Regions from separate parts of the Homo sapiens genome. Here region 1 is linked to region 2. The links are contacts of gene promoters, found by promoter capture Hi-C in human tissues and cell types (Jung and others, 2019). All regions are on one chromosome and are shown on one strand. Each heading gives the region's core, a stretch centred on a gene start or on the middle of the fragment in contact. The rest is flanking DNA. Distances are from core to core; before and after follow the strand shown. Region 1 has its middle 30 kb from the start of SNTN. Region 2 holds the start of C3orf49 (chromosome 3 open reading frame 49).

Evidence for each region. Contacts are between HindIII fragments. The study calls those that stand out against the background at their distance.
Region 1: a contact is called between a fragment that was not itself captured here and the fragment with the promoter of C3orf49 in region 2, in 2 of the 25 tissues and cell types used here (heart right ventricle and mesendoderm cells).

Annotation. Positions count from the first base shown.
Region 1 is chr3:63,680,571-63,684,863 of GRCh38, forward strand. No RefSeq gene overlaps it. Among named protein-coding and RNA genes, the nearest start is that of SNTN, 30 kb to the left of the region's middle. The HindIII fragment of the contact is 4,842 bases long and covers 1-4,264 here.
Region 2 is chr3:63,817,614-63,821,751 of GRCh38, forward strand. C3orf49 (chromosome 3 open reading frame 49) reads left to right here and starts at 1,686. Exons shown (of 7, transcript NM_001355236.2): 1 at 1,686-1,983. The coding sequence starts at 1,859. RefSeq lists a silencer at 1,033-1,152. The HindIII fragment of the contact is 1,936 bases long and covers 461-2,396 here.

The sequences.
Region 1 (4,293 bases), core at 594-3,093, 140 kb before region 2:
TCAGGAGTTTGAGACAAGTCTGGCCAACATGGTGAAACCCCATCTTTACTAAAAATATAAAAATTACCTGGGTGTGGTGGCAGGCATCTGTAGTCCCTGTTACTCCAGAGGCTGAGGCAGGAGAATCACTTAAACCCGGGAAGTGGAGGTTGCAGTGAGCCGAGATCCTGCCACTGCACTCCAGCCTGGGCAACAGAGCAAGATTCCATTTGAAAAAAAAAAAAAAAAAAAAAAAAAAAAAGAATGCATGGGTCCACACTAAAAATAAACAGATAAAAACCAATATATATTTATACCAAAATATGCATATGCTTATGTATTATATGTGTGTATATAAACATATTATATACTATATATGTGCATGTATACATGTTTTCCCTTCTCACATATATATGCTCAATCAAATGTTTGAACTGACAGCAGCTCTCAAGAAAATCTATTCCAATTTATTTAAAGTTATTTTTTATATATCTTGTTACATGAATATTCAGCAAATTTTAGATTATTCTCACGTTATCCTGTTCTTCACAATGACTTCCTATTTCCTCAAGGACTGTGTTAGGCTATCAATGGATTGGTGAAGAGACTGTTTCTTTAAACTGTACATTTCTCAAAAGGTTTTTTTTTTCAAAACTGATAAATTGAACCTTATCAAAATTTTAAAATTTTGCTCTTTGAAAAACAACATAAAGAAGGCAGAATGGCAAGCGACAGAACATATTCACAATCCATGTGTCTGACAGAGAACTTGCATCTCAAATGTGTGAAGACCTCTTACAACAGGAGAACAAGAAAAGAAGCTATCCAACTGAAAGAAAAATGGACAAAGATTTGAACAGATATTTTTATCAAATAAGATATTGAGATAGACAATAAGCACATGAAGAGAAGCTTGGCATGAGTTATCTCAAAGGTATTCTTGAACCCTAAAATACTGTGCTTCACCCTTGCTGGAATAGTCACTCAGAATTTCTTGGAAGTGCTGAGTGCTTCATTAATCTCCCACACATTGTTCCCTGCCTTCTGATTAAATGCTGCTGTCTTGACTTTATCATTCAGACCTAAACAAGTTGAGCATATAGCAGGGTTTACATGCAGATTTGCCATCCTGGAGATTGAGCAAATTAAAATGTTTAAGTGTCAGTGGCCTGGTGTTGAATCTCATACAATTCTGGCTTCATTTGGATGGGTGGTCTGGGCTAAATCTAACCCAGGACTCTGGAATCAAATTCATCCACCCTTTCTGCTTAGCCATTCTGCCAGCTTTTTCCCTTGGAGATGGAGACTGGTTATGGAAATCAGATTTTTTGCTTCTTCTAAACATGCAGACTCATAGTTCAAACTTGTCATTTGTGATTCTATGATAAAGAAAAAAATAAGCTGAGAGGAAGGAAGACATTATCATTTCTGAACTTGACTTGAAGCTGACTTAATTCATCCCAAGCTACGTCTAAGAATAATAGCAATTCCTCATTAGATACCAATTAAAATAAACCTCTCTTATCAAGATGGGATGACGGTTGAGGGGATCTGGTCATTTAAACAGAATGGGTTATTGAGAGTCAGCCTTTGAAATGAAAAGTAGGGATGGTAGTCCTTCGAAATTGTGGACAAAGTTTTTTTCTATTCCTGCATGTAATAGCAGCATCCAACATTTACTGAGAGCTTACTATATGCCTGGCACAGTACTAAACATTCTGTTTAATCCTTTAACAAACCTCTGGTTTAGAAACTATCTCATTTTCATTTTACAGATTAAGAAGCAGAGGCTCAAACAGGTTAAGTAATCTGTCCAAAAAACAGAGCTGTTAACTAGCTGGACTGTGGTTCAAACTCAAGTGAGTTGATTCCCTTGCATTTTCCTAATTTTTTTCCAAAACATTAATTTGTTTACAAACTTTAAAGATCTTTAATTCATCTAAAATTTAATTAGGAACATGATGTGAAGTGAGACATAAATATTTTGTTTTCTGAAAATGCAATCACAATTTAAAATGATTTTTTTAAACAACTTAATATAACGGAGAGAAAAATACACATGACATGATAAGTAAAAAATGGAAGCCTGGGCGAGGTGGCTCACACCATTAATCCTAGCACTTTGGGAGGCCGAGGCAGGCGGATCATCTGAGTTCAGGAGTTCGAGACCAGCCTGGCCAACATGGTGAAACCCTGTCTCTACTAAAAATACAAAAATTAGCCGGGCGTGGTGGCAGGCACCTGTAGTCCCAGCTACTTGGGAGGCTGAGGCAGGAGAATCTCCTGAACCCGGGAGGCAGAGGTTGCAGTGAGCCAAGATCATGGCATTGCACTCCAGCCTGGGGGACACAAGCGAGACTCCGTCTCAAAAAAAAAAAAAAAAAAAAAAAAAAAAACAACCAGAAGGGAAACTAAACTATATACACAGTATAAGTAACTGCATTAAGTACAAAATATGTATAGCCACTGATATGACATCCATTGTACATCTACATGGAAACATGACACTGATGAAGTTGAAGGAAGAGTCTGAAATCAGAAATCTAGCATTAGACTGCTTAGGTGGGTCTGAATCCCACACCTACCTCTAACTCTCTCTGGATGGCCTTGTGCAAATTACTTAACCTTGCTGTGCTGGTTTCTCATTTAGAAAATGTGGATAATATTACTTATCTTGTGAAATGGCTGAAAAGCTTAAGTAAGTCAATCCATGCAAAACAGCATAGTGCTTAACACTAAAAAACACTGCACCTATAAATATGCAAAAATATTGATAGTTCTAATCACTGAATGGTGTAATTATATGTATTTTAATTTTTTTCATTTAAATGTTCAAATTGAAATTTTCCACATTGTTCACAATGGTTTGTTTTGTTTGTTTGGTTTTTATACTCAGGGGAAAAGATGGTTAATTTTTTCAAACTCTGGGTCTTAAGTGTGTCAGTAATGCCAAAATATTCTAAAATCAAAAACTAAGCCCCATACAAACTCCCTTTGGGGATGCGCCTTTGCGGAGAGAACCCCCATGCCCCCCTCATAGAAAACAAGCTCCTCATTTCCATAAGCTGATAACACAGGAAGCATTAGAGCAAGGATTCAGCAAAAAATAGAATCCTGAAATAATAAATTGGAAGTATTGGGCATTGTGAAAACAAGAACCAATAAATGTAAATAACTCCAAGGTAAATGATTTCTTCAAGTCCCTGAGGTTCTGTAAGAGTTGGAAATATGTTATATTGCATTATAATTTATAATTGGATTTTGAAGTCTGTTCAGTAACAGGTCTAGTAACAGGGCTGGGAATTAATCCTCAATTCATACCTCATTATATTGCTGCAAATATCGCCAAACTTGACTCCACATGAGACAGACCTTCATCTATATAAACAAGGGGGCCAGCCAGGCCCATAGTACTCTAATACAGGTACTTTCTTATATATGGGGAACTGTTGGGATGGAAAGCTGAATTATTCAAAATAATGCAGTTCCCTTGCTAAACTTCACGGAGCTGTAGACGAAGCTAATGAAGGAAAGATTTGTCTGTGTTTCTTCAGAGATGATTTGCGAAAAAATCAGCTGCAAATAACTAGAGAAGCAATCTAGAGAAACGCTTAGTATGTCTCCTACAAGCAAGAGTCTGTCCTGGCCACGAAATTGCTACTGTTCAGAAATTCAATATGTGGAAAAAAACGCAAGGAGAATAGTTCTGGGAACCTGTTCTTCTGGAAAATGATGATTAAAACATTTTCTTCCAGCCACCGACCTCCCTCTGGGGACTAACAAGGCTGAGAAAGATAAAGAGTAGCTATGTGGCTTATTGCCCTCTCTGAACTTCATTTGTCCCACCTGTTGAGTAAGAATACCCACCCGGCAGCATTTCTGTGAGGATGTGAGGATGTGAGGACTCCAGATAACTCACACAGTGTGGTATTCTTTTCTTTTCTTTTCTTTTTTTGACAGATTCTTGCTCTGTCGCCCAGGCTGGAGTGCAGTCGCGTGATCTTGGCTCACTGCAAGTTCCACCTCCTGGGTTCATGACATTCTCCTGCCTCACCCTCCCTAGTAGCTGGGACTACAGGCGTCCGCCACCATGCCCAGTTAATATTTTTGCTATTTTTTTTTTTAGTAGAGATGTGGTTTCACTGTGTTAGCCAGGATGGTCTCGATCTGCTGACCTTGTGATCCGACCACCTCAGCCTCCCAAAGTGCTGGGATTACAGGCGTGAGGCACCGCGCCCGGCCCACAAAGTGTGGTTTTCTTAAAACCTGACACATAATAGACGCACAACAGCTGTTAGCATTATTACTGGGGTG
Region 2 (4,138 bases), core at 436-2,935:
AATCCAGACACAGCTCAAAATTGATGTCTCTCTATACTCTAACTCTTTCCCCACCCCCTTCCCACTCCTTCTAGTTCTGTCATCTGCTTCAGGACTCCTTTGGGAACCTACAAGTTTTGTCACAGATGCCACAGCAGCAAGTGTTTCAGCCTATTACATACACACATACATGCAGACATGCACACACAGAGACATGTACATAGACACCCATGCACAAATAAAAAACAGCTGTCTTTCCTAGCATAAAATTCATCTCATTCATCTAGATAATTGATGAAATACAACAGAATTAAGGCAGGAGTGCCAATAATTGCATGAAAAATATTGCCCTGTTGCTAAAGAAAATATTCATGTATTCATTTATTCAAGCACCTATTATTTATTGTGCTCTGAGGATGCCAACAGATGAGGAAAAACAGACCAGGGAGGAGCATATGTCCATTTGGCCAAGGCATATTAGATATGCTCTACTTCAGCGTTTCTCAAATAAGGGACAGAGGAACATCTGCACCCACTCTCCTAGAATATGGATTCCTGGGTCTCATTCCCTGCTGAAGCGGAATTTCTATTTCACTTGAATTTTGCCATAAAACTATGGCTTGGGCACTATGAGTTGTCCCACTTTAGGGATGAGAAAACAAGCATGGGTGGGTTAAAATGAATTGGCCAAGGTCACATAGCTAAGCTAGAAATGAGAACTCATGCATAATTCCCAAATCCACTCTCTTAGCCCCTTAACATTATACACTTCATTCTAGACCATTTTAAAGCTCTTTTCCCCAGTACTGAAACATACAAGACCCTCACTACTCCAAGTGCAGTCTGGCATCATCAGCGTCACCTGCGGGTTTGTTAGGAGTGCAAATTCTTGGATCCCAGCCCAGATGTACTGTATCGAAATCTGCATCTTAAAAAGACCTCCAGGAAGTTTGTGTGCACTTGAAAGCTTGAGAAGTATGCTCCAGATTATTGATTAATGCAAACACAGAAAGCAGAGTAATTCTTGTAACTCCCAGAACCTTTCTAGAGGAGTTTTTCTTGTTAAGCATCTAGTTATTTGACTGAACAACTCAAACCGCGAGAGGGTAACAGGAATAAATCCTAGTGTCTGCTGCCACCTTGTGGTGAGAAGTTCCATCACAGGCAGAATTCGCTCTTCACCACGAAATAAATGGGGCAATGTTGGAAGGGAGGGGTGGATCAGGTCCTCAATTTAGCAATGTACTTTGAGAGACCACTGCAAAATTCCAAGATGTAATGAAAACCACCCTTGGGGTACATTTTGAGATGTCCAAACAACAACTGGCCTTGTCATATGTGTCCCACAGGACACAGAGAACATTCACCAGCTGTAACTGAGAGATCTAACAGAAGCTCAACTTGTGTTAATCAGCGTATCGTTGGTATTCCTATAGGTCCCTACCACTTCAGAGTTCAAATACGCACTTCTGAATGTGGTGGTCAATTAGTGTGTGGGTGTTTTTTGTTGTTGTTGTTGTTGTTTGATTTTTTTTTTCTATCCAAATGCCAGCATTGAGGCAATCAGATCATCATTTCTGTATTTGCCTTGTTCAAGAATCTGTGAAGTGTTCCACAAAGGTCCATGGAATTTCACACAGCTCTGTCAAATACATCACTGGTGACCTCTGTGAAGTTGTAAACAGGGCCAGTCCCACAAATAATGTCTCTAACACCTGGAAGGGAATAAGGGAAAGACTCTAAAAATTTCCTACATATTTTATTCCGAATAGCCCACACCTTGACAGTACATTCAGTCACTGGATGATTTTGTATTGAAGTCTGTAAGTTCAAGAACTAAAACAATCCAAAACGGCTACTACAGGTGAAGTTGAGAGCAATGGCCCAACCTCAGCTGTATCTACCAGAACCCTTTAAGATTGCCTACAGAAAAGTTGGACAGTGCCGAAGATTCCAGCAACTCAAGAAGAAAAATGGCTCATTCAAAAGGAAGGGGATAGAAAGGTAACAGAGATTCATTTCCTTTTCTGTCAAATGAGAGTCTTTGGGTTTGGCATAGTGGCATGTCCTTTTAAGCATTGCATTTAGGAATGAGGACTCTGGATGGATTGGCGGGGAGGGTACTGCGTTGGATCAAGAAATCTAGTGTGACAATGTAAGCTTCATTTTATGATCAGAAACATCTTAATTGTAACAGGGAAAACCTTTCCTTTCCACTCGAAATTAAGTTTCAATGTGGCATAGGAGACTAAAATAAGTTCTGATCCTATGTTGATATTTCAGCATCAGAATTTTGGACATCTCACATCCCGTGAAAATACTATTATTTTGAAAAGTCATTAGTGCATTCTTCGAAATAGGTCCACGATCAGTGCTTTCTTTCTCCTATCCCAGCAATTTGGGCTGCTGAAATATGTACTAATCACATTTCACTATGGACACATTGTTTAATGTAACGTTAAAACTGCCTTAGACTTGCTATTTTTTTGCCAATGACAAAACCATATAGACAGGTATGAAACATCCAAAATATAATATATTTTAATTTGGAAAGTCAGTGTGGTGATTTATTTTCCAATTTCTTTGGGCTTCTCTCTTACCAGGTCCATGGGCTATAGTTCAGACATGTAGAAGTGAGGTGTTTTAATGAGTCCTGGAAGCATCAAAGACCAAGCTTGTGAACTTCCATGGACAAAATAAAATACTGCAGAGATTTCCACTTTCAATGAAAAGTAGGCACTCCGGGGGAAGCAATACAACCAAATAAATTCAGTACCAACACAAAAATATTTAAAAACTTAAGAAGGGGAGGGTTCTGCTCATATCAGAAATTGCAGCAGTGTGTTCCTAGGCTCTGGAGCTAAATCACCTTTGTTAATTATGTTCTAGATAGATTGGGGATGAGAGTGGGGAGGATGGGAATGGGAAACACCTTCTAGAGATTCTGAGACCACTTAGAACTGGGCTTTTAACATGGGTGGTCTTCAAAATTCCTGAATCTCCTGAAACTGTATTTGCATTGTTCTGTGTCACAGTATGTGTATGTGTGTACATGTTTATAGTAGTAGAATCACTTAAAAATTAAATTATTATTAAAGGAGTCTCAGAGGGGTCTACGGGAGATTAATCCTACCCATAAGTTATCTCTGGGTGAATTAGGAAATGGTGCTCCCTCCTCAGGACATTTTACTGCCATCTGCCAGAAAATCATTATAATAACTATACACAAGTCTAAGGATGAAATTGAATAGCACCCCCTAGAAGTCATATATGTACATTTTGCAGAACCCTGCCCTTGGTCCCAGAAGGGAGGCTGCTAGCTTCTCCCTTATTTTGCCCTCTAGTGTGGGCTCCCTGCTTGCCTTTTAAGTTAATGGATTTTCCCCATAAGTTAATGGCTTTTCCCCACTGTTCTGATCCACATGGTAATAAAAAGTATCATTTATGGAATGCTTTTTAAGGTTCCAAACACATGAATTATTTCCTTTTATTTTCATAATTCTGAAAAGATTATGCCCATTTTCAAATGAGAAGACCAAAGCTTATAGAGGTTACATGACATGCCCAAGGTCACAGAGTTAGGAATTGTCCTGAGTTAAACCAATACCATTCAACTCCAGTGTCTAGGCTGTCACTGAACCACTTCCCATATATAATTACAGAAAAAGGCTGAATGATTTGGGTTCTGTTTAGAACAGTGTTTTCCTGGAGAGTAGTACATATGCTACTGATGGTACATGAGATATTTTAGGTAATATATGAAGAACATTGTTAATGGTTATAAATTTGTTTTAATCCATATTAGAAATATATGTTATATATTTAATACAACGTAATAGCATAATATAAAACCTGGGATTTCACCCAGAGAAATGAAAACTTATGTTCATACAAAACCTATAGATAAATGTTTATAGCAGCTTTATTCATAATAGCCCCAAACTGGAAACAACCCAAGTATCCTTCAATCAGTGAATAGTTAAACAAAGTGTGGTACATTCACATCATGGACTATTACTCAGCAATAAAAAGATATGAACAATTAATACACAAAATCTGGATGAATGCCCAAAGAATTATGCTGAGTGAAAAAAAGCATATCTCAAAAAATTACATGATGTATATTTCCATTTACATAACATTCTTGAAAGGACGAGAA